Regions from separate parts of the Homo sapiens genome. Here region 2 is linked to region 1. The links are contacts of gene promoters, found by promoter capture Hi-C in human tissues and cell types (Jung and others, 2019). All regions are on one chromosome and are shown on one strand. The core of a region is centred on a gene start or on the middle of the fragment in contact, and the rest is flanking DNA. Distances in the headings are between cores, read along the strand shown. Region 1 overlaps ARHGEF1 (Rho guanine nucleotide exchange factor 1). Region 2 holds the start of CIC (capicua transcriptional repressor).

The links. Contacts are between HindIII fragments. The study calls those that stand out against the background at their distance.
Region 2: the fragment with the promoter of CIC here is called in contact with a fragment that was not itself captured in region 1 in 2 of the 25 tissues and cell types used here (dorsolateral prefrontal cortex and lymphoblastoid cells).

What each region holds. Positions count from the first base shown.
Region 1 is chr19:41,901,719-41,907,202 of GRCh38, forward strand. ARHGEF1 (Rho guanine nucleotide exchange factor 1) reads left to right here. Exons shown (of 29, transcript NM_004706.4): 15 at 169-315; 16 at 556-638; 17 at 815-940; 18 at 1,066-1,180; 19 at 1,589-1,689; 20 at 1,989-2,066; 21 at 2,317-2,392; 22 at 2,498-2,665; 23 at 3,231-3,318; 24 at 3,457-3,543; 25 at 4,042-4,109; 26 at 4,221-4,307; 27 at 4,739-4,902; 28 at 4,985-5,085; 1 more. The coding sequence ends at 5,068. Among named protein-coding and RNA genes, the nearest start is that of ARHGEF1, 21 kb to the left of the region's middle. RefSeq lists enhancers at 2,045-2,650, 2,651-3,255, 3,861-4,465. The HindIII fragment of the contact is 9,702 bases long and covers 1-5,484 here.
Region 2 is chr19:42,266,681-42,272,164 of GRCh38, forward strand. It overlaps CIC (capicua transcriptional repressor), which reads left to right and starts at 2,572. Exons shown (of 21, transcript NM_001386298.1): 1 at 2,572-2,701; 2 at 5,094-5,484. The coding sequence starts at 5,104. RefSeq lists enhancers at 1,562-2,071, 4,231-4,280. The HindIII fragment of the contact is 15,630 bases long and covers 1-5,484 here.

The sequences.
Region 1 (5,484 bases), core at 1,065-3,564:
CTGGGATTACAAGTGTGAACCACCATGGCTAGCCAGAGAGAGTTTTTTCCCACCAACTTCTAGGAAGCTTTCCTCCCTGCTCTGCCTCATTCCTCTAGCCTGCCCATGAGGTCATGCCCCCTAGTCTGCACCCTCCCCAACATGCTTCCTGCTTTGGTGGCCCTGCAGAGCTGCTGGTGACAGAGGCGGCCCACGTGCGCATGCTGCGGGTGCTGCACGACCTCTTCTTCCAGCCCATGGCAGAATGCCTGTTCTTCCCCTTGGAGGAGCTGCAGAACATCTTCCCCAGCCTGGACGAGCTCATCGAGGTGCATTGTGAGTGCAGAGCCAGGGTCCCTCTGTGTACCCCACTGCCCCACGGGCAGCTCTGCTCTAGCCCTGGGTTCAACCTGCTCGGGAACCCCAGGGTTCACATGGGGTGGGGGCAGATACGCCATCCGGTCCCGAGGATCAGACACAGACACACCTGCAGCCCTACCCCCACCACACCGCAGCAGGCCCCGCACAGCATCTTCCAGACCCTGGTGGAGCATCCCTTTCCTCCTGCCCCCACAGCCCTGTTCCTCGATCGCCTGATGAAGCGGAGGCAGGAGAGTGGCTACCTCATCGAGGAGATCGGAGACGTGCTGCTGGCCCGGGTGAGATGCCCAGCCCTCCCGCTCCTCCCAGCTAGACACATGGAATTCAGGCCCGGGACGGGTCCTGAGCCCACCCTACTCCAGTCCCAGGGTCTGGGCTTCCAGCCTGTCGTACTTTAGTCCCTGTTCTTGCCCATCCCCACTGAGACACCTGCCTGGCCTGAATCTCGCTGTAGTTTGATGGTGCTGAGGGCTCCTGGTTCCAGAAAATCTCCTCCCGCTTCTGCAGCCGCCAGTCATTTGCCTTAGAGCAGCTCAAAGCCAAGCAACGCAAGGACCCTCGGTTCTGTGCCTTCGTGCAGGTGAGGTGGGGTCTGGACTCCAGCTTCCCAGGGAGGAGGGGCCTGGAGACCCAGACTCCTAGGTGCCTGCGCCCTGGGGTGAGCCCAAAGCCTGGGCCATCGCAACACCAGCATGTTTCCCGCAGGAAGCTGAGAGCCGCCCGCGGTGCCGCCGCCTGCAGCTGAAGGACATGATCCCCACGGAGATGCAGCGGCTGACCAAGTACCCCCTGCTCCTGCAGAGCATCGGGCAGAACACAGGTACCGCGGGCCTGGATCTCTGGGCCTCGGCTCTCCTCTTTTTTTTTTACATTTTTTTTCTCACTCATTTTCATCAGTGATACCATCACAGCTCACTGCAGCCTCAACCTCCCAGGATCTACCATCCTCCCACCTCAGCTCCCCAAGTAGCTGGGACCCCAAGGGCACACCACCATGCCCAGCTAATTTTTTTAGTTTTTTTTTTTAGAGACGGGGTCTCGCCATGTTGCCCAGGCTGGCTTTGAACTCCTGGTCTCAAGCTATCCTCCCGCCTCAGCCTCCCAAAGTGCTTGGATTACAGGCGTGAGCCACCATGCCCGGCCAGCTGTCCTTTGTCTAACCTTGGCTGCCCAATCTGGAGCCTCCAGGGCAGGGGTTCACCAGAGCTGCTCTCTCCCTTGCCTGCAGAAGAGCCCACAGAACGGGAGAAAGTGGAGCTGGCAGCCGAGTGCTGCCGGGAAATTCTACACCACGTCAACCAAGCCGTGCGTGACATGGAGGACCTGCTGGTGAGCCTGGGCTGGCCCCACACCCGGGACAGTGGATGGTGTGAGAGCAGGGGGTGGACCCTACCTCAGCCTGTCCAGAAGTCACACCCCACCCCTTGGCTTGTCTCCCTCAAGGGTCACTGTGTCCAGGGGTTGGCTTGGCCCTCAGCATCTCCCTCTCAGGGTCATTGGAGGTCAGGCCCAACCCTCAGCTTGCCCGCATCAGAAGTTGGTCTTGGCTCTCATCTTACCAATGTGGGTCACTGCAGGTCAGCCCCAGCACTTAGCTTGTCCCCATAATGCTCCCGTCTCTGCCCCAGAGGCTCAAGGACTATCAGCGGCGCCTGGACTTGTCCCACCTTCGGCAGAGCAGCGACCCTATGCTGAGCGAGTTCAAGGTGTGACCATACCCTCCTGCCTCCCCCGCCCCCCTACTCCTTGGCCCAGGGGATTCTGTGATACAGCCCCCAGCCTGTCCTGCCCATCCCATAATACACCCAGGAAGCGAGAGCTCTGTCCCCCACCTCATGCCAATCCCATGATCCCCAGCCTGTGGTCATCCCCGGCCACTGCCCTGCCCTTCCCCTCCCCACCAACCCCAATCACCCCCTGCCAACCTGCACAAACCATCACCCCCTCCTGCCCCAGAACCTGGACATCACCAAGAAGAAATTGGTCCACGAGGGCCCACTGACGTGGCGGGTGACTAAGGACAAGGCAGTGGGTGAGTGCCAGAGCAGCTGCCTAGTGCAGGGTGTTGGGGCAGTGAGCCAAGGGCGGGGAGGGGGTCGCGCGGGGGCACGCCGTGTGAGCACTGCTCGCCCCGTAGAGGTGCATGTGCTGCTGCTGGACGACCTGCTGCTGCTGCTCCAGCGCCAGGACGAGCGGCTGCTGCTCAAGTCCCATAGCCGGACACTGACGCCCACGCCCGATGGCAAGACCATGCTGCGGCCCGTGCTGCGGCTCACCTCCGCCATGACCCGCGAGGTGGCCACCGGTGAGTGCAGCCACTGCATGGCCCAGGGCAGAGGGTGTCTTTTTTGGGCAGAGCTGCCTGTGGAGTGGGGAGCAGAACCCTCTAGAGAGCCAGGGAGCCAGCATTCTAGCAAAGAGGTTGAGAAGTAGGTGGAGGTGGGCAGGGCGGGGCCAGGCCTAGAGGGTTTATAAGTGAGGTAGGAACTGCTGCAGGTGTTTGCACAGAGGCGTGTCTTGTGTAAACAAGGAGAAGAAAGGCCAGGAGTCCAGTGAGGAGGGATTTGTAAACATACTACTAGGAAGTTGCACCAGGGCCACAAACACTGGAAGCGGCTGGAGGGTGGGAGTGGCTGGAGGGGTTTCGTTAGGTAAGCCAGGGTACATGCCCGATTCCATAAGGAGGTGTGAGAGGTGGGGCTCAGGAGGACACATCGGGCCCTGGATATTAGCAGACAGTGAGTGGTGAGTTGAGCCATGGGAGCCCTGAGAGCGCCACCACTGTGGGTGACTTCTCCAGCTTGTGCTTAGGGAGGGGCAGGCACTGGGGGGACCTGGGCTCTGAGCCCCATCTCCCCCTCTCCCTGCAGATCACAAAGCCTTCTACGTCCTTTTTACCTGGGACCAGGAGGCCCAGATATACGAGCTGGTGGCACAGACTGTGTCGGAGCGGAAAAAGTGAGGGGGGGTCTGAGTTCTGAGTGTGGGTGGAGGACGCCCAGGTTTCTGGGTTCCCAGGGACAGGAGGGCTGTGGGGAGGCCCTGGCATAGGGTCTGGGGGCTCTGACTGCCCAGGGATTTGGCCTTTCTCCCCAGCTGGTGTGCTCTCATCACTGAGACTGCCGGATCCCTGAAAGTCCCTGCCCCTGCCTCTCGCCCTAAGCCCCGGCCCAGCCCGAGCAGGTGAGGGGGGCCATGGAGAGAGCTGGAGGTTCAGGGAGTGGGGCCGGAAGGCGGGGCAGGCTTCCCTCCACAACTCCAGAACCGTCTCTGTGTGAGCATGCACATGTGTGAATGCATGTGTGTGCATACATGTGTGTCTGTACGCAAGTATGTGACTGTGCGTGCATATATAGTGTGTGTATGCATGCATGTGTGCGTGTGCATGTGTGTGCGTGTATGGTGTGTGTGTATGCATATGTGTGCATGCGTGTGACAGCATGTGCATGCATGTGTGTGTGTGTGCGCATGTGCCGACCCCACCACTGCCCCGTCTGTCTCCTGTCTCCAGGCCTCTGTGTCTTCCATTGTCTGGGCCTCTCTGTCTCCCTGTCTCCCGGCCTCGACCTCTGTCTCTGTCTCCGGACCTCCCTGCCTCCCCACCTCCAGCTCTCTGTCTCCCTGCCCCTGCGGCCCCCCAGGGCCAGGGGTGTGGGGTCACCCAGCACTTCCTCCCCTCAGCACCCGAGAACCCCTCCTCAGCAGCTCTGAGAACGGCAATGGTGGCCGAGAGACGTCTCCAGCTGATGGTGAGACCAGAGGGATGCTGGGTGAGGGGCCAGGTTGGGGCTGCCGGGTGAAGAGAGGCATCCACAGGAGGCCCGGCAGGATCTGAGCTCCCTCTCTGTTCCCCAATCCAGCCCGGACCGAGAGAATCCTCAGTGACCTCCTGCCCTTCTGCAGACCAGGCCCCGAGGGCCAGCTCGCTGCCACGGCCCTTCGGAAAGGTAGCCCAGCTCTGCCCCTCCAGGGTGGCCACCAGCCCAAACAGTGCCTCTGTTCCAACTAGAACAAGGCTCTCCACGTCAAAAATTTCCTTACGCCCAGCTGCCAGAAAACAAATGCTCCAAACCCACCCAGCCTGCACCACTGTCCTGGGTGCCCACGTCCCTCTTCTGCAGCCACCATCCCTTGCTTGATTCTATATTTAGCCTCTTCCTGAACACATCTCTGTCTTCAGTACCTTCCTGCCCTGTCCCAACCCTAAACCCAGCCTCACTTCTTCACCTCCCTTTGGATCCCCGAACCCCATCTGCTCAGCCTTGCCTGGCACCCACCTTCACCTCCAGCCCCTACACATCCCCTTTGGAATCCCCCATCCCAGATCCCAGCCCAGCCCCCTGGTCTCCTGACTCCACCCCTCCTTGCCCCTGGCCAGTGCTGTCCCTGAAGCAGCTTCTGTTTCCGGCGGAGGAAGACAATGGGGCGGGGCCTCCTCGAGATGGGGATGGGGTCCCAGGGGGCGGCCCCCTGAGCCCAGCACGGACCCAGGAAATCCAGGAGAACCTGCTCAGCTTGGAGGAGACCATGAAGCAGCTGGAGGTGGGGCGGGACGGGCCAGGGGTGCCCTGAGTGGGCTGGGGAAGGAAGGGGCCCCCCTCATCCATGACCCCCACCCCACCAGGAGTTGGAGGAGGAATTTTGCCGCCTGAGACCCCTCCTGTCTCAGCTTGGGGGGAACTCTGTCCCCCAGCCTGGCTGCACTTGAGGTTCCCGCCCAGGAAGGTGAGTGGGGCACCTGGGGGCCAGGGCGCTGTCCTGAAAGGAGGGTCCCCCTCCAGAGCTCGCATCCCTACAGCCCCTTCTGTCCATCTCCCTCTTTGTCTTTTCTGAATCTCCCCACTCCACCTCGTGTTTCTCATCTCTGTGTCTCTGTTTCTGATAATCTGTTTCTCTGTCTCTGTGCCCGCCTGCCTCTCCCCACCTCCCCTTCTCTCTCTGCTCTCCCTGTCTTGTCTCTGTGTCTGTCTCTCCCTGTCTCTCTCTCCATCTCTCCCCGTCTCCCCTCTTCTCCTACATCCCCCAGGCCTTTTGCAAGAAGGAGAGGAATGGGGGAGAGGACGTGAGGGACCACCCCCACCCACACAGCTGCCGCAGCATCTCACACCCCGAGGGCCTGAGGAG
Region 2 (5,484 bases), core at 1,322-3,821, 370 kb after region 1:
ACTTAGGAAGCTAAGGCAGGAGAATCGCTTGAACCCAGGAGGCACAGGTTGCAGTGAGCCGAGATCGCGCCACTGCACTCCAGCCTGGGTGACAGAGCAAGACTCCGTCTCAAAAAAAAACAAATTTAATTAAAAATAAATAAATAGGCCGGGTGCAGTGGCTCACACCTGTAATCCCAGCACTCTGGGAGGCCGAGGCGTGCAGATCACGAGGTCAGGGGATCGAGACCATCCTGGCTAACACAGTGAAACCTCGTCTCTACTAAAAATACAAAAAATTAGCCGGGCGCAGTGGCGGGCGCCTGTAGTCCCAGCTACTCGGGAGCCTGAGGCGTGAACCCGGGAGGCGGAGTGTGCAGTGAGCCGAGATCATGCCACTGCATTCCGGCCTGGGCAACAGAGCGAGACTCCATCTCAAATAAATAAATAAATAAATAAATACAATTATATTGCAGTAGTACTAGTAGTATGATAGTTTAAGATTATATAAATAATGTAACAGGGCCGGGCGCAGTGGCTCACGCCTGTAATCCCAGTACTTTGGGAGGCCGAAGTGGGTGGATCATGAGGTCAGGAGTTCAAGACCATCCTGACCAACATGGTGAAACCCCGTGTGTACTAAAAATACAAAAATTAGCCGGGTGTGGTGGTGTGTGCCTGTAATCCCAGCTACTCAGGAGGCTTAGACAGGAGAAACACTTGAACCCAGGAGGCGGAGGTTGCAGTGAGCCGAGGTTGCGACATTGCACTCCAGTCTGGGCGACAGAGCAAGACTCTGTTTCGGGGAAAAAAATAATAATAATAATAACAACAGTGTAGGTTATAAGATTCCTTCCGAGTGTGAACTCCTCGTGGACAGTGAATTTCCCCCAATCTCAACACAAATAATTTGTGAACAGTGGGACTTTCTCATAGATGTGAATATCCTTCATATTCCATGAACCCCATTGGACAACTAATATTTCTTCTATGCTATGAACTAGCTCTATGCCCTAGCACATTCTTTCACACGTAGTTTGAGTGTTTCATGGACAGTATGACTTGCAATAGACTGGATGCAGTTTCCTCACAAGTGGTGTGAATTCCAGTGTGGAATCTGAACCTGTCACAGGCAAAAGAAAGCCTCCCTGCGGCCAGCGTACCCATATTGCTTCCCATTAGCCTCGGACCAGGGCGAATACAAAGTGGAGGGCATAGATGCATTGCAGACAGGTTCACCATCTGGTTGTAAACCCGTATCTGGGCAGCAGGCATCTACTACAAACAGGGCATCTCCCTGTCCTCCTCCACTCCAGTGTGATACCCTCCTACCCCTGGGATCTTTAAAAATCTGCCTCTGTCAGGGGCGTACACCCACAAAGTGTAGCTCTCCACGTAATGCAGTGCGAAGCCCCAAGAAGCGCTGCATTTCGTCATCTCGGCCCCCTGCCCCAATGCCTAGTGGGCTGTCAAACTGCGCTGTCCTAAATGTCAAACTCTTGGAGGAGGTGACCTGTCCCCCGGGCCCCAGGCCGCGCGCGTTGCCTATACTGCAGCGCGCGACACCCCACAAGCGCGCGTTCTCTCCCCTCCCGGTGGCAACAGGGCTTTCCGCGGGGCCGCGCCAGACTTTTCGAGACCGTCAATTGGTCGTAGTCCCGGCCACCCGGCAGCCAATCAACAAGGGGAAAGGTGACATCACTGGTTCTCCTCCCCTCCCCCAATCCAAACTTCCCTACTCCGTCTACCGGCAGCAACAACCACGTGGGGGAGGGGTAAGAGAGTAGAACCGGTGAGGTCATTGCACCGCCCCGGCCGCTGCTGATTGGCTGCGGGGCTCGCGGGTGGCGGTTGGCTGCTCCTTGCACCTCCCCCTCGTGCCGCTACCGCTGCCACTGAGAGGAGCCACCGGCGACGCCAGAGCCAGGAATACGGGTGAGTCGGGGCCCTGGGTCTAAGATACTCCTGGCGTCCAGTGAGACTCACGACGAACTGCCCTTTTCGACTTTTTCTCCTCGCCGGGTTTCTTTGGTGCTCCAAGCACTCTGTCACATGGGAGTTGTAGTCTGCCTTGTACTGTCGGCTATGGGCCGAAGACGTGAGAAGACTACGGTTCCCAGCAGGAACTGCGACTAGCCGGTCAACAAACGTTCGGGCCACGCCTTCTACCTCCGTTCATTGGACAACCCGTCCCTTAGCCCCTCCTCCTTTCATTTCATTGGCTACTGTCCCTCACAGAGGCTGGGTTCCGGCCTAGGCTGCATGGCGACTGGGTACTGTATTTGTCATTTGGAACTAAGACGGCCTGCAATTGGACACGACTGGTGTCCTTCACTTGTTGTAGGGTAGGGCCCTAGGCAGATCAGGCAGTCGTAGGCTCAGGTTGGTGTCGGTCCCGGAGGGAGGCCGGTCTTGGACTTTGGCCCCGCCCCCTAGCGCTGCCCGATGGGCCCAATTGGTCGCCGCGAGCGTCGCTCGTCGTCGAGAGGCGGAGCCGACCAGTCTGCGGATATCTATTGGTCTAGGCTGGCGCCGGTCAGTGGGGTTGTGATCGCTGATTGGCTGGCTGCTCCAGCTGTTGCAGGTCCATTCACCATTTTGTGTGTTGGAGTAAAAAAAAAAGGGAGAATCGAGAGGGAGAGCCGGAGGGGGGGCGGGGAGGGACCGGACCGGACCGAGCCGGGGCCACGGCCCCCCGCCCCGAAACCCCGCCGAGCCCAAGGTGAGGGGCGGGGCCAGGGCTGACACAGGAAAGGGGGGTCCGGGGGGCTGGGGGCCGAGAGGGGACAGGTGGCAGGGACGGGGAGGGGGTACAGGGGGAAAGGGGTGGGCGGAATGGTGGGAAGGGAGGAGGGAGTGGAGGAAGTGGTGGGGGTTTGACAGAAAAAGGGTAACTGGGGGAGGGGGTGGTGGGCAAAGAAGGGTAACAGGAATGGAGGGGTGACAGGACTAGATCAGGGTGACAGGGAGAGGGAGGGGACAGAGTTGGAGAGTGTGACAAGGAGAGGTGATGGGGAGAGAAGGTGACAGGTCCGGAGATGGCTGACAGGACAGTGACTGGGAGGAATAGGTGACAGAGATAAATGGGGGTGACAAGGAGGGGGTGACAGGAGGGGGCCTAGGGCATTTTAACCGAGAGGTAGAGATAGAGGTAGTGACAGGATGAGAGAGAGAGTGTCAGAGAAGCTGGTGCCAGGAGGGCTAATGGGAACAGAGGGTATGAGACCCCAAAGAGCCAGGGCCTGGGCTGGCCTGGGCTCCGGGAGTTACTACTCAGATCTGAGGAAGGTGAGGGCCCCCGGGGCTTGGGTGGGAGTTATTCAGACAGGGTGGACAGGAAGAGAGTAGGCCCTAGGGGAAAGAAAGCAGCTCTGGGGCGAAGAGAGGCTGGGCCAGGCAGCAAGGTCTAGGGGTCCAGGCGGCATAGTTGTAGGCCCTGGGTGGGGTATGCAAAGGTTTGTGCTTGGAAAAAACTGGAGCCAGATCTCAGTCCCCAACATGGTAGTCTAGTGGGTCAGCGGGTATTAGGTGGTGATGGCTGCCCAACTTCTGGGCATTTGGGTGCCAGCCCCGGGACGCCCTCCAGGCTCTGCCTGTGAGGACCCCAGGATTGGCCCAAGAAAGGGCAGGCCTGGGACTCCAGGGTCCACAGGAGGAGCAGGCCCCTAGTGAGAGAGCATGAGGTCAAGGGTCCCCCAGTAGCTGGAAGACTGAGTCGGGGTTGCCTCTCATTGTGTTTGGCTTATGGTTCTGGGTCCCCCAACCCTCCTAGAGGCCTCTGTTTTGGCCTCTCAGGTTCTCTTAGTCACTTCAGAGTAAAGTTTTTTCCCCTTTTCTTTTCTCAGGGCAGCTCGAAAGGGGGCGGGCAGTAATGACTGTTCAGGAAGTGGGTGAGGTTGGCCTGTTGGGCTTGTCCTGCTTTCTTTGACCTTATCCCACCTATCCCCACTTGGAGTTGGAGGGCATATTTGGGGGCCTGCGGGGGGCTAGCCGACTCAGCCACCCTGCCAGAGCCAGCCCAGCCAGGGCGGGGATGCATGCAGGCAAGAAGAGGGGGGCTGGGCTTGCGGGTATCACGCTGGGTGCTGTGGGGGGAGGAGCAGGCTCCCATCCAGTGGGACAGAGAAACCCTGGGGTGTAGCTCTGTGTCCCACTGTGTGATGACGTGTGCGTGCTTCTGTGCGTGTGTGTGTGTTTGTGCGCGTGCGTGTGCTCATGCACGGCCCCGTGGCAGTGCTGGGTATGAGCTCTTGCCCCAGACATGCCCCTGCCTGCTCCCTGCCAGGATCTGGGGAGATGGCTGTACCTGGCAGCCCTAGGGTGCAGAGCAGAGTGGGCAGCCGTCCCTCGGGACTCTCAGCTGCCCACTTCTTCCCACAGTGCCTGGCCATGCCAGGCTGCCCAGAGGGGCAGAGGGAGGGTGGGGGGGTGGAGAAAGGCTCATATCACAGCCCAGTCACCACCCTTTTTGTGACTTGGTACTTGTGCATGTGTGTGTGTGTCTGAGTGCATGTACTCTCTGCATGGTGACAGTGCGAGTAAATGTGCCCTCTGGATCATGTGACAGGCAGCACACTGAAATGGTCAGGAGCACGGACTCTGGAGCCAGAGAGCCTGGGTTCAGACCCTAGCACTGCTGTTTCCCACCTGGATGATCTTGGACAAGTTGTCTCATCTTTTTGTGGCTCAGTTTCCTCAGGTGTGAAATGAGGCCGATAGTAGCACCTGCTTTTAGGGCTGTTGTGAGGATGAAACAGGTTAATAAAGGCAAGCTTAGCATGGAGTTCAGGACACAGGGAGTGCTCCATAGGTGTGAACTGTTAGTGCTTTTGATGTCCCCTTGGGGCATTCAGAGCATGTGCTCTGTGTCCTTTGCAGAGCCAGCAGGTGTCTGTTCCCCAAGGAGCCAGAGTGTGTATACTCAGGGGACTCAGGTGCTCACCTGTGCCTGGTGCTGACTGAGGTATCACATGAGTTGACAGCAGCCAGAGAGGAGGCCTTGGGGATGGTGGGATGGAGACAGTAGACTCAGCAAGTGGGAAATCTTAGGGTACACTGGCTCTGGAGAGGTTCCTGAGTTGCTCCGCGTAATCCTCCGCTCTCCCACCCTGCAGGTGGACAAAAATGAAGCCAATGAAGAAGGCATGCACTGGCCTTTCAGGTCCTGGCAGTGGCAGCAAGTCCCCCCCAGCCACCAGGGCCAAGGCTCTGAGGCGGCGAGGGGCTGGGGAGGGTGACAAGCCAGAGGAGGAGGATGACGAGGCACAGCAGCCGCAACCACAGTCCGGGCCCGAAGAGGCTGAGGAAGGGGAGGAGGAGGAGGCTGAGCGGGGCCCTGGGGCTGAAGGTCCTCCACTGGAGCTGCACCCTGGCGACCCGGCTCCAGGCCCAGCAGAGGACCCCAAAGGGGATGGGGAGGCAGGCCGCTGGGAGCCCTCACTCAGCCGCAAGACAGCCACGTTCAAGTCTCGAGCGCCCAAGAAGAAGTATGTGGAGGAGCACGGA